Regions from separate parts of the Homo sapiens genome. Here region 1 is linked to region 2. The links are contacts of gene promoters, found by promoter capture Hi-C in blood cells and fetal thymus (Javierre and others, 2016). All regions are on one chromosome and are shown on one strand. The core of a region is centred on a gene start or on the middle of the fragment in contact, and the rest is flanking DNA. Distances in the headings are between cores, read along the strand shown.

Region 1 (5,448 bases), core at 1,686-4,185, 480 kb before region 2:
ATAACGATTTACTGTTACACGGATGAAGACTGGGAAAAAGCATTTGCCGTTCTAGCAAAGTCCTGTATACCCATGTCTTCCAACTGGAGAAATATTTTCATTAAAATAATCTTGACTACTGTTGAAAAGTCAAAGAAAATTTTCAACAAGATATGCTAGGGTCTTGCAGGATATGAGTTTGAATCTGTGAACTAAAAAGGTTCAAGTTGCATTTCCTTAAGTTGTAGTTTTTTCAGGGACTTTTGGGGGAGGGGGAATGAGCAGGCTCATCCTGTAGTATTTAGATAACACAACAATTAGAGAAATGTAACACCACTATGGCCACTAAGACTTGAGAAGGTAAAAACCAGGAGTGTCAGATGGTGAAACAGGCCATTGGAATGGAACTGAAGATTATGTCGAGAGGTTGGAATGAACAAAAAGTAAATGGAGGAGAGAGATCTAGTTTCTGTATCCTGTTTGCATCTGATGCTGAAGCAGAGACATGAATTGCTGATGGTAATGGATTCTATTCTCTTTTAGGAGGCCAGCAATATTATATAAATAGTGGTTGTTTGAGGGAGAGAAACGACAAGTTCCCCTTTTGTGCATGTTCACACTTTGTTTTGAATGTCTCTGAGATATCTTTAAAGTAGAGGATCAAAATTGGGTACCAGCATGGAATCAGGAGTTATACTTTGGAGGAAAATGAATTAATATTAGATCACATTTTCTTTAATCTTTTAAGATCTGGAATTTTACAAGGGTCTTCATCAACAGGGAAAACCGTGTTCTGAGTGCTAAAGTTTGGGTGGTGAACTGGATAATTCTTTTATAGGATCTCTGATAAAGATAAACATGTAAATAACTGCAGAAATAATGCTTTATTTAAGCACATTACCTATGATTCATGGTAGGGGGAAAATAGAGACCACAGAAACTCCTGAAGTCTTATCAGGGTTTCTTTGCAAACTATTATATGGATGCCCATCTGTTGTTTTTTCTTGAAATTTAGTGTTCAGGTTGATGGATACTGAATGTATAGGATTCTGAAGGTTGGAGTTTATTTAAAACAGAACTTTCCTTTTGTTTTACTACGAGTTATGAAATGCAGTTTTAATTTGTTGCAATAAATATAGAAACTGAGATGAGTAGGAATTTATACTAACTTTTCTCACTGTTATGGTACATACTCTATATCATGAACCTTGAAATTCAAATTGATCCCTACACTATCTTGCAAATATTACAAATGAAGAATTACAAAAGTTGTGGTATTTTAGCTTATCAAAATGCACCCGAAACATAAAATATTTTTCTTTAAGTTCTTAAATCAGAAGAATAGGAAAGAGTTGAAAATAAATGTGATACATTTTATCATTATATTAGTATTTTGTTGAAATTAATACCTTGAATCATGCTATGGATAAACATTTAGCCTAGAACTCTAAAAGTAGTATAATGTGAATCAGATTTAAAGAATTGAGAAGGCTGGCAATTCAAAAATAGAGGAAGAAAACACTCTTTGGGGTTATGAAAAAAAGGATCCTCTTAGTATTAAGATTTCTTAAAAAGCTATACACAGTTTTAAGATAGATTGTTCTTGAAGATAATGGGGCAAATAATTACCTGCTAAACAAATTATGAGTCCTGTGATTCTTTTTTTGGTTGAAATAATTTCAAGAACTCCAGCATATGTTGCAGTTTTGGCTAGAAAGGTGATTGTGACATACATCCATTCATCCATTCTCCCTCTCTCCTTCCCTCCTTCCCTCCCTTCCTTCTTTCCACTTTCAATACATAGGGCTGGGGTAGCAAAAAAAAATAATAATAGTAAACAGTTTTGTAAAACTTGATAATAGAATTATCTGACAGGGTTAATAGTTGTGTTTGAAATTCAGAGCTAGTATGGTTCACTCTCCCCAGAAAATAAAATTTTAATTTCTTACACCTCAGGGAATAAAAACTCTAAATTAAAACCCATCTTGCCTCTTTAACTTTGTGTCACTTAGCAAAAATATCTTTAAGGATGGAAAGAAGAGACCCCATGTGTCTTAAATTCCAAGTCACTGTGTGACTAAGCTCGGAGTTCCAATAAATATTAAACTAGAATTCTGCTGGGAATTTGAGTCATCCGCTTAAGCTACTCCTGGGACCAAGACAACTCTGGTTGACCTGATGTTGATGTTTATTCAGAGCTTTGGTGGAAAGGAGCCTCTCACCCTTGGACTTCTAATTAACAAAGTCATTCCTTAGTCACTTGTTAAGTGATAGAGCTACTCCTTGTTTTCAGGCCTGTAATTTGCTAAAGGATTGAGCACAACAGAGAAACTAAGGAGTTTGGAGCTTCTGCTGTTTAGAGTCTGCTTTCATTATTTTACTTTTACTTTCTTATCTAGCTATGTGAGGGTACTATGTAAAAGTCTGGTGATTTGCTTTAGATACTTAAGAGAAAAGCTTAGCTGTAGTCACATATAGTGTCTAAGATGGCTTTCCTTATAGTTACATGTTTTTAATAGTTGAGTTTGCCTATACTCTTCATAACATGTGCACATGTTAAATATGTTACTGCTTTAAAAAAGCATTTCATTAGTAAGATGGGGAATCGTTTATGTACAATATTGAAATGAGAGTAGTAGTATAATGGTGTGTTTGGTAACTAACAGGACACAATCAAAATTTGAGAATTAGAAGTTCAGAATGAAAAAAGGACTTCTCTCTTGAGGAATCTATCTAGAAGTTGAGAGATAGCAAGTGTTTAACAGAGTGTAATGATTTCTGAGAAGCATGCTTTTAAAGATTTTTTTTAAATTCCTGAATTTATGAGTTTATATTATAATAATCTATAATAGAGCAATAGATTTATACACTGGAAAAGAAACAAATTAAGGGAAGGAGAGAATACACAATGACATGGAGGACATCAAGAAAATATGTTTGGAAACATGTGAAACTCTCCAAATGGGAAATAAATATTCTTGAGAGAAATTAATCACAGTTGCAGTTTTTCTCCTAAAGGGACTGTTTGCACAATGGGTTATGTAGGCTCAGGTTTGATTTTTGAAAAACATGTTAAAAAATAGTATTCCTGTTATTCCACGTTTATTTTTCGAGTTTAGGTTCTGCTACTAAATCAAGATGATACAGATAAAAGGAAAGCCCTTTTATCTCCCCCGGCAGCATCTGTTGAATAAGGGGGTTATATTTGATTTCTAAATTCTAAAATTCTGACTGTACAGCAGTATATGCCGTTGTTGACAGTAAACAGTAAAGATTTCAAGCCTGTGGTTTTAAAAGAAGAAGAGATGATTGGGTAGAAACTTGGAATATTAAGAAGTTGTTTAGTTACTTGGCTGTTGCCTTTTCCTGTTTTGTTGGGAGGGGGAGCAGGGAAAGGAAGAGTATTGAACTTTTTGGGGCAACCGTTTTGTGCCAGACATTGTGCTGGAAGCTTTACACACATTTTGTCTTTTAATCCTTCCAGTTCCCCTGTGACATGTAGGTATCATTTTCTCTAGTTTAGAGATAAGGAAACCTAGTCTGAAAAATGCAAGAATAGTTAACTTGCCTGTGGTCACATGGCAAATTTCATTGATAATTTGATTTTCTTAAAGAATATGCCATTGTTTGAAGAAAAAACCAGTTGCCATCTGACATTCAGGAAGCCGTTAAAAAACCTTGCTCCCAACCTGGTAGCCATAAAACTCATGCAGCATTTGCAAGCCTCATAGCCTGGATTCTCCAAGACCAGGCTCTCTGGGAAGGCACATTGTTGCCAGTCGATGATTCTGCAGCAGCTTATGCTAGTTCTCAAAGCGCTGATGTCCTGCTACCTGCATTGCGCTGGAGGGAAATGTAGTCACCAAGGGCTGCCGCACAGGCTCTTTTCCCTCCAGTGCTAACTCTTCTGAAGTGTATCACAGAATTACTGCGGTGTTATTTGAGGCAGTGAAAGCAACTATGTTTCTTTATATAATTCATTGAAATAGCTTGTCATGGTCTTAAACTGAGTGTTCCCAAGGCTAGTTATGTTTGTCCACTTCAAGGAGCAGTTGTAGCAAATTCAGAACCATAGCTCTTCCTGGTTGAAAAGTTACAACTCTTGACTATTAACAGTTCTTAACATGATTTTTTTTTTAATTACCCTATCTTCACTCACAACAATTTTGTTAAAGACTATCCTGTGCTGATAAACTGCTCTCTGAAATGCAAAGAGGAAATTAACAATGTATTTGTGAATTGGAAGGAAGTGGAAGCAGAGAGATGAGGAGTAGTTGACTTTATTTTGAGGGTAGACTGTGTCAGGAGGGAGATTGTTGAGTGGGGGAGCTTTGTGGCACATAGTACATTTTTAAGTACATACCAGGTACGTTCTTTTATTGTTAAAGCCATAAGAAATGGAGTTATGAGCTTCTCCACCTCCTTTTACTTGCCTCATTTAAAATTTATGGAATTTTTGAACCTAAAAGATTCAAGCTGAGTGGTTCCCTATACACTGAAAGGTATAGTCAAATTGAAACTATATTGGAGACACAAAGATGAATAATAAGACGTGTAAACATAATATTTTCTAGGGTGCTTTGGATTTTGAGTTGCCAAATCATGTTGGAAAAGCAAGAGATTTGTATAAAAGCTGCAAAGGAAACATCTGTGTTTTGTTTAGAGAATACGTTATATTTTGGCCAAATAAGAAAAAAGAGAAATTGTCAAAGTGAACAATATGGGGGGAAGAATGTCTTCCTAAAGATCAGAATGAACTTATATTATTTCCTTAACTGATCCATGCTTTTTAAAAAAAAATGAATTAAAATACACTGAATCTATGTGAAGCCAAATATAAGGATTGAAAACAGTCTTTTTTAAATTTACCATCTGATTCCTTTCCAATATCTGGATGTTTGCTATTATTGTGGCAAGACCCATTGTTAACTGTATTGCTAAAAATCTACTTTTATCTATCCTGGTAATACTTGACTGACCTGAGTCAAAGTCACATTTTCTTTTTTTTTTTTTTTTAACTTTGAATTTCTTTTGCTTGGGCTTTCACAAATTGAAGTTATTTCATAGAATCGTTAGATTTTTCAGGTTGGAAGAGAATTTGATAAAAGCTACGGCTGCTCTGGATTTAAGCACACCTATCTTAGAGGCACCTTGTCCTCCCCCCATTTATCAAACAAGTTAGTTTTTAGATGCATCTTTTGTATGGAAGAGCACACAGTTAGTGTAGACTATAAATAAAATAATGATAAAATGCTACCATTTAGTGCTTATGTGCCATTTTCTTTCCTTTTGGGTTTCCTTCTTTATTTCTGTTTTGTCTTTACTCTGTTTTCCTTTTTATTTCTTAATATCTCATTCATCTTTTTTTTTAATTGCCAGGGGATCCATGTGATACAATGGGGTCAATAATTACTTATCTTCCTGTAGTTTTTGTTATTGCTGTTAAGTTAAAATGCCCAAAACAGTTAC
Region 2 (5,719 bases), core at 376-2,875:
ATCTTTTGTGAGGAATAATTTGTCTTTACCTTGAGCTGTGTTTGTGCTAGGCCATAAAATCAGGCAGTGACCCTGTGGAATCAATGGGGACATTAAAGCGACTACAGAAACTGGTTTGGACTAAGAAAGCCAGAGTGCAGAATCTGGATGAGGTGAAACCGACATTAATAAACCTCCGTAAGTAAGAACTCAATAAGCTGTTAAAACTCCTTTGAGGGAGAACTAAGGAAGCATACGTTAATGAAGCCCATTTTGATAAAGTCTTAAGATAATCATTAAACATTGAGGATTTTTTTTTATTGCCAAGTTATTTTAAAACAGACATCCCCATCTGTTCCTGAATTTTACCCCGTATTTATGCACCGCCCCGTTTCTCCTTGCCTTCAAGACCGGGCTCCGAGACACAGTGAGAGAGAGCAATGGAGGAAGCTCAGCAGTGTCCACTGTCGCCATTCCTTGGCCATAGAAAACAATGTATTTGAATTTTGATGTAAGCATAACAAATTGGTATGTCCATGGCATGCAACTTTGATTTTCATTTATTTATTTATAATAGCATGCCTTAAGTAATCGAACTCTTTTAAAAATACCCATTAAACGTTTGGATTTAAAGGGATTCCATGACATAGAGCAATTGACTCTGGGTGATATATATTTCTATTTTCTGTAACTGTTTTCTACATTACTAGAAATTTCATCAGAGTCTTTGCCACATTGTGTAAATATAGATCTCACAAATGAACTTTATGGTATTACAGATATGGCTTTTTTAAATTTTTGTCGTTCTTGTTTTTTGAAAACCATTTCACTGTGAGACACACTGCATCCATACATCTCTTGGTAGATTGATATTAAAATAGACAATTTCAGAATGTCAGTAGGATTTCAGTCCAAACCACTGAGATTTTATTCTTTTAAGTAGGGCAAATAATTTTATTTATTTCCTTATAATTCTTTATTATACACATGACCTTAAAAATTAAAAAAATATTTAAGAATAGAAACATAAGAGGTGGGTTTTTTAATTGTATTTTTTTCTCAAATATCTTTCAGCATATTATTTGTATGTGGCCTCCATTCTTTCCAGTGAGATAGAATTTAATCAATTGTTATGGTTTCAAAAATGTCAGAAAAATGCGACTTTTACAAAACAAAAAATTTTATATAGCAAAATAACTTGCTTTTTAAATAAATGCTGCTGTAAATAATTTTATAAAATTGAATGACTTCTTGGTTTATCCATTGCAGTGTATTTATTTCTCTTATATAAATGGAAGAATAATTCCTATATGTGAAGAATTATAATCATAGTTTTTAACCTATTTCTTTGTCATTCAGAAGATGAAGATGACACGTTGATTTCTTGTTTGAAATTAACCAAGTCCCGAGAAAAGAAAGTGAATAGTGTTAGCACGAGGAGGAAGGAAGAAATGGAGATTAGATTGGATACTCTTTCTGCATCACTGGGTAGATCCAGCACTTTAAATAACTGCAACTTGGAAGATAAATTAGCTTGGTATGAAGGTGAAGCTTACATGTGGCATCACTGGAAGCCTTTTCCTGAAAACCCTCTCTGGACATGTCTTGATTTCCAAATAGCACAAGTTGGACCCTGGGACCACTGCTCCTCTTGTATTCGCCACACACGTCTCAAGTCTTCCTGCTCAGATATGGATCTCCTACATTCATGGGTAAGTTTGCAGACTACGGAAATGTGTCATCTTATCTGGGGTTTTGTACTGTCGGGAAAGAAACAGATAGCAAAAGTGCTAATCAGTGAAATTTATCAGTTTCAGAAAAGTTACCAGAGCAAGAGTTGTCTTTCCAAAAAGCAACCAAACTCTTGTGACTTTTACCCATATTAACATTTCATATATTCCTTTGTGTACAAATTAATGACTGCATAAAATTTTTCCAGGGATTTCTTTTTGATTGAAGGAAGACTTCGTGTGTTGACTGAGATCAAGAAAATGTGAAGTGAACTGTCTAAATTATTGCAATTATAATGAAATTTCACTGAAAAATAATAGCTAATTTTAATGAGCATTTTATTTGGGCCTGCCATTTTCCTAAGCATTTTATATGTATTATCTCATTTAAATCTCACATCAACTCTATAAGGTAAGGACTTACATTATGAAATATTACCTTAAGAAATATTATTTTTGGCCAGGCACGGTGGCTCATGCCTGTAATCCCAGCACTTTTGGGAGGCCGAGGCGGGAGGATCATGAGGTCAGGAGATCGAGACCATCCTGGCTAACAAGGTGAAACCCCGTCTCTACTAAAAATACAAAAAAATTAGCCGGGCGTGGTGGCGGGCACCTGTAGTTCCAGCTACTCGGGAGGCTGAGGCGGAAGAATGGCGTGAACCCAGGAGGTGGAGCTTGCAGTGAGCCGAGATCGCGCCACTGCCCTCCAGCCTGGGCGACTGAGCAAGACTCGTCCTCAAAAAAAAAAAAAAAAAAAAAAAAAAAAAAAAGAAATATTATTTCCCCTCATTTTACAGTTGAGAAAATGGAGGCACAAAAAGTTGGTAACAGGTGCAAAGTCAGACAGCTAACAGGAGGTAGAGCCAAGACCTATAACCTAGGTCTTGCTTTTAGCTAGAGCTCCTGCTTTTAGCTACTACATTAGAGTGTTTTCCATATACGAGGGCAGACTCTAAGGCTATTATGTGATACGTGAGAAAGAGTATGCTCTCTGGAGTCAAACAAATTTGGATGGATTCTGGCTGTGCTACTTTTTTTTTGGGCTTGGATAAGTTATTTAAACCTTTTAATCTTAACTTTCTTAACTAAAAAATGGAAATAGTCAAGAAGCTAAAGTCAAATATTATAAATCTTCTAGTACTTAAGAGTGGTACTTTTTTTTCAATTTCCTTGTAAATTGCTCAAGGCATGTTTTATAACTTTACCTACAGCTCCTCTGGTCATGTGTGTTTTCAGTGAATGAATGGGACAATTCTGTGTATCCAGGGAGCCTACTCTCTACCATTTTCCTCAAAGAATCAGTCTCTTCTTAGACAGAAGCTACATTTTATAACATATTTAGAGGTCTCTTAAAAGGCATATTTTCTCTTGGAACTTTTTTTGCCTTTTAAGATTTGTGCATTAAGTCTGCAAAGACTAGAATTAAAGTAACTTGTGTTCAAAGTGCCATAGTAAATATAACAGGTATCTGATAACAGACTTCGAACTGATGAAACTGACCAACATTAATCATTTCTAAATATCCTCCTTCTTCTTTAATCTTCATCTTCTTTTCTGGGACTGCTGCACTTTGCAGGTTTTCTCTTAGAGTAGCTTCTTGGAGAGTAGCTGGTAATATAATTAGGACGTGCTTCTGATGACTCCCTCTGATATCTTCAGAAGCAGGATCAAGGCTGATGACTCCTTGGCAAGTGGCTAAGCTGTTGTATAGGCATCTGAACACAAATAGTCAGAGTTTTCTTCAAGAATAAAATCTGGACTCCCTAACTTGGCATTTCTGGATTTCATCAGTCTGGACTCAATCTAATTTTTCAGTCTTATCTGTGCACTACCCCCACCTTATTGATTTCCTATGCCGAACTGCCAAACTGAATGATTTGCTATTCCTAAAGGCTGTCTCACACTTTCTTCCCTCTATCTTTGTGACAGTGTGATGGCCTCTGCCTGATATGTGAATTCTCTCTGTTAGAACCCATCCCATCATCCCTTAGACTCAGATCAAATACTTCATCATCTAGAAAGCTTTTCTGAGTAACACCAGGCAGAAGTAGTCCCTCCTTCCTTTGAACTTCTACATTATTTGAGGGCATTATTCTTTCATTCCATATCCATGAAACACATCCTGCCAACCTACTATTTGCTATTCACAATATCAGGCACTGGAGATACAGAGCTAAATGATATCTACACTGCCCTCATCTTCATGGAACTTAACCATACTCCACTTGTGCTGGAATTAGTTCAGTATTTGTATACTTCCTATGAATAACTTATCTTTGTATCCTCCATAGTTCCTATAATGTAATGGGTCCTCAATAAATATCTGAAGAAGTGGCCAGGTGTGGTGGCTCACACCATTAATCCCAGCACTTTGGGAGGCCAAGGTGGGAGGATCACTTGATCCCAGGATTTCAAGACCAACCTGGGAAACAAAGTGAGACCCTGCCTCCAAAAAAAAAAAAAAAAAAAAAAAGTGAGCATTTTCTAACATGAAGTGCAGAACAGAAATAAATAAATAAATATTTGAGTAGCACTTGTTGCCTAAATAAATGGAGGTTAGAAACCAATGGACTTTGTTTCCATAGATCCAGATAAAGCATATTTCTTCTTGTTTTTCTAGCTGTTCTTATAGCCAAAGCTTTCCTCATTCTAATAAATCCAGTTATAGATAAATTATTTTGTACATGTGAGTGTTTGTGGATGTGTGTAGGTGTAGGGAAATACACAACAGTCATATTTTTCTTTTTTATTTAGGTAGTTTTGTCTATTTTAATATATAACTTAACGATTAAGTGAGTTTTATCTGCAGAAGGTCAAACATATCTACAGAATGCTCAGAATTTCAGATGATATTGTTCAGCATTCGTGACAGAAAAGCCTCAGTGGACTTGGAGAGAGGGTTCAAGAGCATGTTAGAGTTAAATTGGTTTGGTAAACTTAATGAGACCACTTACACTCCGGGATTTGAGACACTAAAGTGAAAGAAGTTGGATGAGTGCAAATTATTATTTTTGTATTCTACACATATATTCTATAACAACAACAAGTGAAAAATATCCAGTTTCATTTTAGCATAGCTGGTATTTTTTTCAATAGTAATTGCAGGGTTATTATTTAGGTTATTTAACTTTCATATTATAGAATGTAAAGGAGGCAGTGTTGGGGTTTGAAAAGATGTGCTTCTGTAATGAATGTTACTTACTATTAATGGCAGGTAGTCAGAGGCGACATTTTTGCAATTTAAAAGGGTAAGAGTGTGATTATATTTTTAAAAATATACGTGCCAAGATATGCAGATATGATGGAGCTGGGCCTAAACCCCACATTTCATGGGAAATGAATCTAATCTACAAGGACACTAGTTTCTCCTTGACTTCAAAAATTTTAGGAATAGTACAATCTTGGGGTCTTTTTTTTTTTTTTTTTTTTTTTTTGATGGATTCTCACCCTGTCGCCCAGGCTGGAGTGTAATGGCATGATCTTGGCTCACTGCAACTTCTGCCTCTTGGGTTCAAATGATTCTCCTGCCTCAGCCTCCCTAGTAGCTGGGATTACAGGTGCCCGCCACCATGCCCGGCTTATTTTTGTATTTTTAGTAGAGATGGGGTTTCACCATGTTGGCCAGGCTGGTCTTGAACTCCTGACCTTGTGATCTGCTTGGTGTCTTTGATTCTATTATTACATCAGAGTTTTTAGGTGGCCTGAAATTAACTCATCTTTGAGGAAGTCCTTGTTCACCCAGATATGCTTCCTGCTAAGCCCACTGTAGCCTCCCACTCTCAAGGTGGGTGCTGATGGATTTAATGCAGCTCCGACATTGCCGGCAGAGTGTGCTTGAGTAAACTCCTTACCCTCTTTCACCCACTAATTCCAACTCTGTAAGGTGGTTTCAGTCCTACTCACTCTCTTTCCTCTGAGTAACTCTTTGCATACCAAAAACACCCAGTAGTTAAGCAAGGTTATTAATATCTATTAGAAAAATTTAGTGAAATAGTGTTGGGATTCAT

The links. Contacts are between HindIII fragments. The CHiCAGO score rates a contact against its expected background, and 5 or more counts as called.
Region 1: a fragment that was not itself captured here is called in contact with the fragment with the promoter of SAMSN1-AS1 in region 2 in 1 of 17 cell types (erythroblasts); the score reaches 5.4 in erythroblasts.

Annotation. Positions count from the first base shown.
Region 1 is chr21:15,055,839-15,061,286 of GRCh38, reverse strand. The region is part of intron 1 of NRIP1 (nuclear receptor interacting protein 1); the gene reads left to right. Among named protein-coding and RNA genes, the nearest start is that of NRIP1, 6.4 kb to the left of the region's middle. RefSeq lists enhancers at 2,345-2,394, 3,770-3,819, 4,040-4,089. The HindIII fragment of the contact is 994 bases long and covers 2,439-3,432 here.
Region 2 is chr21:14,578,108-14,583,826 of GRCh38, reverse strand. SAMSN1-AS1 (SAMSN1 antisense RNA 1) reads right to left here and starts at 1,625. Exons shown (of 5, transcript NR_046512.2): 1 at 1,536-1,625. It also overlaps a transcript of SAMSN1 not described here. RefSeq lists an enhancer at 5,345-5,639. The HindIII fragment of the contact is 2,204 bases long and covers 1,533-3,736 here.